Linked DNA regions of Homo sapiens: region 1 is linked to region 2. Evidence: promoter capture Hi-C in 16 types of primary human blood cells and fetal thymus (Javierre and others, 2016). All regions are on one chromosome and are shown on one strand. The core of a region is centred on a gene start or on the middle of the fragment in contact, and the rest is flanking DNA. Distances in the headings are between cores, read along the strand shown. Region 1 overlaps SPATA21 (spermatogenesis associated 21). Region 2 holds the start of SPATA21 (spermatogenesis associated 21).

Region 1 (4,322 bases), core at 601-3,100, 37 kb after region 2:
ACCCGTAGGGTTGTCCCTGTGCAAAGCTAGTTGAAGCCTGTGTGAAAGTGGCCACTGCGGCACCCTTGGCCCACGGTGTTAGTAGACGGCTGGAGTAAGAGGTGCGGCTGAGGCTATGATACAGGGACCCTGTGTGGATGTCTCTTTCACTACTCTTTTCCAATCACTTAGAAGAGTGGCCAGGACACAGTGAACATTCAGTGAATACTTACTAAATGAATGATGTTGTAGTCTAGCGGGGGAAAAGGCAAGCAGTGAGTTAAGAAAATCAAGTGGGTTGCGGGCTATAATTGGGTAACTACAGGTTGCAGGGGGCCTCCAGCGGGAGCCTAGCTACTCTGTAGGGTAGGGGTGGGGATAGGACAGAGAAGATTTTCTGGAGCAGAGTCCTTAACTTGAAATCTGGAAGATGAGCAGGAGTTAATTGCACAGATAAGTACTTGCACATCTAAGTAAATGTATCAGTGATAAAATCATAGGTAATCATAGGTAATGCAGTGGCTCACGCCTGTAATCCCAACACTTTGGGAGGCCAAGGTGTAAGGATTGCTTGAGGCAAGGAGTTTGTGACCAGCCTGGGCAACACAGCGAGACCACGTCTCTACACAAAATAAAAAAATCAGCTGGGTGTGGTGGTTGGTGCCTATGGTCCCAACTACTCAAGAGGCTAGGGCAGGACGATCAGTTGAGCCCAGGAGTTTAAGGCTGTAGTGAGGCCATGTTCACGCCACTGCACTCCTGCCTGGGTAACAGAGTGAGACTCTGTCTCCCCGCCACGCCCCTCCCCAAAATAATAGGTAACATGTACAAAGCATTTTCCGTGTGCCAGACACCATGCTGCGTGCTTGATGGGCCTTGTTAATTCATCCTTGTTATTTAATCCTACGGCATGTGAACTGTCTGATCTGTTTTACCCAACGGAAACTTGAAGCTCAGAGAAGTCAAGTCACTTGCATTGACAGGGTAGAGAGAACCCCTTCCCTCCATTTTACACAGGGTGACTGAGGCCCAGAGCAGGGCAGTGACTTGCTCATGGTCACAGAAAGGGCTGAGCTGAGACTAGAAGCCAGGTTTCCTGACTCCTAGGCTTGTGTTCCTGCTCCAGAGCTGGCCAGAGAGATAGGGGCTGAGGAGGAGAAGGGTGAATTAAACACAGCCAGGCTGAGATGGGTGGGCACTGCCTCCCCAGCTACTACCAGAAAAAGCTGAAGGAAGGCACCTGCAAGGCCCAGGAGATGGAAGCGGCCGTAGGCCGGCTGCGGTTGCAGAAGCTTCCCTACAACCCCCAGCAAGAAGAGAGCTCAGAAGTTCCAGAACGAAAGGTCCTCAGTATCCTGAGCCGGCTGAAGCAGCAGAACTATGGTGAGGGCCCTGGGCAGGGTGGGATGGGCTAGGGTTGGGGCTTTGCTCTCTTGCCCATCTGGTCTCCTTTCCTTGGACCCTCAGGCAGCCAGGCCAAGGGAGCTGAGAGGCCAGTTTCCCACTTCGGGCTTAACTGTGTACATCAGAAAACAGGCTGATAATCACTATTTTCCATCCAGGCCTATGACAATGGCCTCCTGCGTTGGACTCCTCCCCTCCTGCCTTAGCCTGAGCACAGGTTGGTCCCATGAGCCAGGACTGAGAAAGAACAGCTGTAGAGATTAGCAATCCCAGCTCACTGTTTATTGAGTGCCCACTGTGCTAGGCCCTTTGCAGATGCTCTAGAATTTAATACTCATAATCATGTATTTACCCCATTTTACAGATTAGAAAAATGAAACTGACCCAGGCACAGTGGCTCACATCTGTAATCCCAGCACTTTGGGAGGCCGAGGTGGGCGGATCACCTGAGGTCAGAAGTTCGAGACCATCCTGGCCAACATGGTGAAACCCCATCTCTAAAAAATTAGCCAGGTGTGGTGGCGAGCACCGGTAATCCCAGCTACTCTGGAGGCTGAGGCTGGAGAATCGCTTGAACCCGGGAGATGGAGGTTGCAGTGAGCCGAGATCACGCCATTGCACTCCAGCCTGGGGGACAAGAGCAAAACTCTGTCTCAAAAAAAAAAACAAAAATGAAACTGATAAAGTTCAGCAATTTGCCCAATGCCCCTAACTAGTGTTTTGGAAAGGGGAGTTTATATCCAGGTCTGACCCCAAAATCTATGCTCTTTCCACTGGGCAAGCCTGCCTCCCTTCCCCCAGGTACCATTTATTAGACTCCTACTATGTGCCAAGTAACAGGATAGGAGCTTTGCAGTCTTTCTAGAGCATGCCTACTAGACTTTGCCAACACCCATCACAAAGTCCTCTGCTCCTTGTTAAGCTGTTACCAGCTCTTATTCTGTGTGCAGCACTGAGCTGAGTGCTTTGCATATATTTCTCCTTTAATCCTCATCATCAACTTTTGTGAGGTGGGTACCACTATCACCTCCAGCTCAGAAGCTTAGAGAGGTTAAGTGACTTGCCCCAAACCACTCAGGTCATTATGTAGCAACGCCAGGATTTCACTTGAATCTGCCTGCTTCCCAAGGCTGGGCATGCTGTGAAGCATTCCTCCTTCTGCCTCCTTCTTCACCAGCTCCCAACCTGCAGAGCCCCTATGCCCAGGTGCCCTGCATCCTGCTCTGCCCACAGCTGGACAAGAAGATGGTCCGTAGGCAGCCGAGCAACCACTATGCACTAGACCAGTGCACACCCCCTGGCCTGGATCCTGACATCCGCAGCCCCTTCTTCCAGTCAGGATCTCAAGGAAACAGGTGGGTGCCCAGAGAAAGGGTCCCAGCCCAGGCCCTTCCAGATTCTTCCTTAAGAGGCCCCTGGCCTAATGCCTGGGAATCCATCTTTCTAAGAGATCATACCTGAGAGGCTGCTTGCTCCAGGGAGGAGAAAGGGTAAAAGGCGAAGAAGACAAACCTTTGTTGAGGGCCTGTGTACCCAGCAGATTGTTCCACTGAAGCCAGAGTGCTTCTGCTTTCCTGTGTCCAGGACTCAGTGGCACCTAACTGAGTACTCTGAGTTCCCTATGGTTCCATATTAGGACTAGCAGACTGTGCACCTGGGCAGAGGGGAACGTCTCCTGCAGCAGTCCCCCTCCAGGCCGCTGGGGAAGGGAGCTCTGGACTTGGAATCAGGCCCCTAAGCACAACTGCTGGTTCCACCATTTCTGAGGGGAGGCCTCCTCTCTCTCCTCACTTGGGCACGCACAGATGGCTCATATACTGGCAGATAGGGAAAGGGCCACATGTCTCCCACCCTTCTGCCCTACTCCTCTCCCCAGGGAACACAACTCTGACAGCAGAAAGTGGCTCAGCTCTGTGCCAGCTCGAACCCACTGACCCTCTGGAGGCCTGACTCTAGGCAGCTGCTCAAGGCCTGTAGACAGATGGGCCACCAGGCAGGAGCTGCTGCTGGGATTTGCTTTTGTGGCCTGGTGAGCTAATAAACACCAATAACTTCAGCCTCTGTGCCTCTTGCCAAGAAAGGCCCTCAAGTTGTCACCCAGCCACCACTGGGCTCTCAGAGTGCAGGGTTCCACCTCAAAGCCCTGCGCGGGGTTGGGATTTCTGCTACAGGTGCCCCTGCGTGCAGTCTTGACCTTCTGTGCCTTCTCAAAGCACAGGGCTAGGCCTCTCCTCAGGTGAGCACATCCCCCTCTGGACTGGGAGCCCCACAAAAGCAGCCATTCTCTCTCTCCACTGGCTCTAAGACAGGCCCTGTGGAAGAGCAGGAGGTGGCCTCTGCATGCTCCCCCGACAGAGCCCCAGGACCCAGGGCTCTCATTCTCTGGGAGCCCCAAGAGGGGTGGGTCCTTTCCCCTCAACCCACATACCACCCGGCCTCGTGTTTTACCAAAGACAGTCTTTCCCTGGGACTGGGCAGAGGGAAATCCCCCAGGGTTAAATAAGCGGCCACAGCAAGAGGTAGAGGGCAGGGACTGAAATGAGGACAAAGATCTGACAAGTTTAAAACATGTATTTAAAATACAATTTATAAAATGCTTAATCTGCCGACTCAGGAGCCCGCGGTGCAGGGTGGGGTGGGAGTGGGCAGCTGCCCGCTACACCAGCAGAGTAAGACTGCAGGGGTGCAGCCCTCCCTCCCATGCCCTTCTGTTCAGACACCCAAGGGGCCCATGTGCACCCCTGGGATCACACGACCAGAAAACAGGACCCCAGAGGTTTCTTGAGTCTCTGCTTACCAGGGAGGCTGGGTACAGCCCTGCCAGCCCATCCCTGAGCAGGGCACCCCCAGATGGGGCAGAGCAGGGTATGGCTGGGCAGGGCAGGGCTGGGCGGGGCAGATGGGCTCTGGAAGGGGCTGATGGTAGCAGATAGGGTGTT
Region 2 (4,178 bases), core at 72-2,571:
GTATACATAGGAGTGAAACTGCTGAGTTATACAATAATGCTATGTTTAGTGGTTTTGTTTTGTTTTGTTTTGTTTGAAACAGCATCTCACTCTGTTGCCCAGGCTGGAAAGCACTGGCATGATCATGGCTCACTGCAGCCTCAACCTCCCAGGCTCAAGTGATCCTCCCAACTCAGCCTCCCAAGTAGCTGGGACTACAGGTGTGAACCACCATGTCCGGCCTTGCTCACCTTTTTGAGGAGCCTCCAAACTGTCTTCCACAGCAGCAGCACCATTTACGTTCACAAGGGTTTCAATTTCTTCACATTTTTGCAAATATTGGTTATTTTTCTTTTCTTTTCTTTTCTTTTTCTTTTCTTTTTTTTTTTTTTTTTAGACAGGGTCTCTCTCTTTCTTTCTCTCTCTGTCACCCCACACTGGAGTGCAATGGTGCGATCATCACTCACTGCAGCCTCAAATTCCCGGGCTCAAGGGATCCTCCTGCCTCAACCTTTTGAGTAGCTGGGCCTACAGGCACACACCACCCTACCCTGCTATTTTTCTTACTTTTTGTAGAGACGGGGGTCTTGCTATGTTGCCCAGGCTGGTCTTGAATTCCTGTCTTCAAGAGATCCTCCTGCCTCAGCCTTCCAAAGTGCTAGGATTATAGGCATGAGCCACCATACCTGGCCTTATTTTCCAATTTTTTTTTTTTTGAGACTAAGTCTCACTCTACCACCCAGGCTGGAAGACAGTGGCATGATCTCAGCTCACTGCAACTTCTGCCTCCCAGGTTCAAGTGATTCTCGTGCCTCAGCCTCCTAAGTAGCTGGGATTACAGGCATGCGCCACCATGCCTGGCTAATTTTTGTATTTTTAGTAGAGACGGGGTTTCACCATGTTGGCCAGGCTGGTCTATAACTCGACCTCAAGTGATCCACCCACCTCGGCCTCCCAAAGTGCTGGGATTACAGGTGTGAGCCACCGCACCCAGCCATTCAGAGCACTTTCAGTTCTGTTCAGTCTAACAAAGACAGGCATCGAGCACATACCCTATGCCAGGTGCTGAGTACTGGGGTCACTGGGATGTGGCCAATCCAGCTCCTACCATCCTGGAGCTCGCAGACTGGAGGAGACAGAGAGAAAAGCAGTCATTGGCAAAGCAGAATGAAAGGTACTGTAATGAAGCAAATTCACAGGGGCCTGTGGGAGCAAAGAGAAGAAACCCCACACAGTCTGGGGAGAGTCAGGGAAGGCTTTCTGGGAGAGAGTACCCTGGCCCAATAATCACTGTGAGGTTGGCAAGGCAACGATTGTTATCTTCATTGTGTAATGGGGGCCACTGAACCAGTGACAAGCTGGGGGAAATGACACTGTCCAGTAGTTGGAGGTCACACAGCCCCTTGCCTTATTCTCAAACCCTAACCACATGGCTGGATATTCCTGAAATGCATTCCTAAACCTCTGCTGCTGAGAATAATTGGACCTGCCATCTATTCCCAGTTTAACTGCCCTGTATACCAAACAAATCCAATTCAAGCCAACAGGCAAAGTATAGGCTCAGACAGAGCCCATCCTATGTGCAAGGCGGTGAGCAGGGGTGGAAAATCTCACTGTGACTCATCCAGCTGATTTCTGGTAGGTGCAGGGCCAAGGTGGGGTGTAAGGTGAACAAGCTTTCCCTGACGGCCTCCAGACATATATATGATATGCCACTTATCTTTATCTGCTGTATTTTCCTGCCATCATAGATATTTCCAAGAGAAATTCTCCCATTTTTCAGATGAGGAAACCACTTATAAAAGGGGCACTCAATACCCAAAGAATTTTGAAAAAGAACAAAGTTGGAGGACTCACACTTCCTGATTTCAAAACTTTTTATTTATTTATTTATTTATTTGTTTTTCCATAGGTTATTGGGGTACAGGTGGTATTTGGCTACATGACTAAGGTTTTTGTTTTTTGGTGTTTTTTTTTTGTTTACATTAGTAATTTTTTTTGAGACGGAGTCTTGCTCTGTTGCCCAGGCTGGCGTGTAGTGGTGCAGTCTCTGCTCACTGCAACCTCCATCTCCCAGGTTCAAGCGATTCTCCTGCCTCAGCCTCCCAAGTACCTAGGATTACAGGCAGGCACCACCATGCCCAGCTAATTTTTGTATTTTTAGTAGAAACAGGATTTCACCATGTTAGCCAGGGTGATCTCAAACTCCTGACCTCGAGTGATCTGCCCCCCTTGGCATCCCAAAGTTCTGGGATTACAGGCGTGAGCCACCTTGCCCTGCATGAGTAGGTTCTTTAGTGGTGATTTGTAAGATTTTGGTCCACCCATCACCTGAGCAGTATACACTGCACCCTATCTGTATTTTTTTTTTTTTTTTTTGAGACAGAGTCTCACCCTGTCATCTAGGCTGGAGTGCAATGGTGCGATCTCGGCTCACTGCAACCCTCCACCTGCCAGGTTCAAGCAATTCTCCTGCCTCAGCCTCCTGACTAGCTGGGATTACAGGCATGTGCCACCATGCCCGGCTAATTCTGTACTTTTAGTAGAGACGGGGTTTCTCCATGTTGGTCAGGCTGGTCTCAAACTCCCAACCTCAGGTGATCTGCCCGCCTCGGCCTCCCAAAGTGCTGGGATTACAGGCACGCACCACCACACTCAGCTAATTTTTTGTATCTTTAGTAGAGATGGGGTTTCACCTTGCTGGCCAGGCTGGTCTCAAACTCCTGACCTCATGATCCGCCCGCCTCAGCCTCCCAGAGTGCTGGGATTACAGGTGTGAGCCACCGCACCAGGCCGATAAATGGGACTTTTACAAAAATTTAAAACTTCTGTGCTTCAAAAGACAAAAAGGTGAAAATGTAATCCACATAATGGGAGAAAATTTTTGCAGATCATATATATGATTCAGGACATGTATCTAGAATTTATAAAGAACATTTACCGTGCAATAATAAAAAGACAACCCAGTATAAATGGACAGAGGCAGGCTGGGTGCTGTGACTCATGCATGTAATCCCAGCATTTTGGGAGGCTGAAATGGGAGGATCACCTGAGCCCAAGAGGTCAAGGCTATAGTGAGCCACGTTCATGCCACTGCAGTCCAGCCTGTGGACAGAGTAAGACCCTGTCTGAAAAAAAAAAAAGGGGGGGGCCGGGCATGGTGGCTCACACCTGTAATCCCAGTACTTTGGAAGGCTGAGGTGGGCAGATCACCTGAGGTCAGGGGTTTGAGACCAGCCTGGTCAAGATGGCAAAACCGCGTCTCTACTAAAAATACAAAAATTAGTCTGGTGTGGTGGCACACACCTGTAATCCCAGCTACTAGGGAGGCTGAAGCAGGAGAATTGCATGGACACGGGAGACGGAGGTTGCAGTGAGCTGGAACTAGGCCACTGCACTCCACCCTGGGTGACAGAGCGAGACTCCATCTCAAAAAAAAAAGGACGAAGGCTCTGAATAAACATTTTTCCAAAGAAGATAGACAAATGGCCAATAAGCACATGAAGATGTCCAACATTATCGGCCATTGGGGAAATGCAAATCAAAATCAGAATGAGATAACACTTTACACTCACATCCACTAGGATAGCTATGATAAAAAAGACAAGTAAGGCGGTACAGTGGCTCACACCTGTAATCCCAAAACACTGGGAGGCTGAGGCGGGAGGATCCCTTGAGCTGAGGAGTTCAAGACCAGCCTGGACAACATAGTGAGATTCCCATCTACAAAATATTTGAAAATTAGCCAGGTGTGGTGGTGTGCACTTGTAGTCTCAGCTACTCAGGAGGCTAAGGTGGGAGGATCCCTTGAACCCCAGAGTTGGAGGTTGCAGTGAGCTATGGTCATACCACTGCACTCCATCCTGGGTGATAAAGGAAGACCCTGTCTCAAAAAATAAATAAATAAATAAATAAGACAGATAATAACAAGTGTTGGAGAGGATGCAGAAAAATTGGAGCAGTCATATGCTGCTGGTAAGAAGGTAAAATGATACAGCCACTTTGAGAAAGTCTGGCAATTACTCAAAAGCTAAAAATAGAGTTGACATGTGATTCAGCAATTCCGTTCCTATATACATAACCAAGAGAAATGCAAATGTATGTTCATATAAAAACTTGTACATGAATGTTCATAGCAGTGTTATTCATAATAGGTAAAATGTGGAAACGGGCCAGGCATGGTGGCTCACACCTGTAAT

What was found. Contacts are between HindIII fragments. The CHiCAGO score rates a contact against its expected background, and 5 or more counts as called.
Region 1: a contact is called between a fragment that was not itself captured here and the fragment with the promoter of SPATA21 in region 2, in 1 of 17 cell types (endothelial precursors). The highest score is 6.7, in endothelial precursors.

What each region holds. Positions count from the first base shown.
Region 1 is chr1:16,397,760-16,402,081 of GRCh38, reverse strand. It overlaps SPATA21 (spermatogenesis associated 21), which reads left to right. Exons shown (of 13, transcript NM_198546.1): 11 at 1,190-1,362; 12 at 2,561-2,738; 13 at 3,260-3,439. The coding sequence ends at 3,317. It overlaps SZRD1 (SUZ RNA binding domain containing 1), which reads right to left. Exons shown (of 4, transcript NM_001114600.3): 4 at 3,937-4,322. Among named protein-coding and RNA genes, the nearest start is that of SZRD1, 33 kb to the right of the region's middle. RefSeq lists a silencer at 492-667. The HindIII fragment of the contact is 1,153 bases long and covers 1,274-2,426 here.
Region 2 is chr1:16,434,567-16,438,744 of GRCh38, reverse strand. SPATA21 (spermatogenesis associated 21) reads left to right here and starts at 1,321. Exons shown (of 13, transcript NM_198546.1): 1 at 1,321-1,617. RefSeq lists a silencer at 421-591. The HindIII fragment of the contact is 2,188 bases long and covers 1-1,657 here.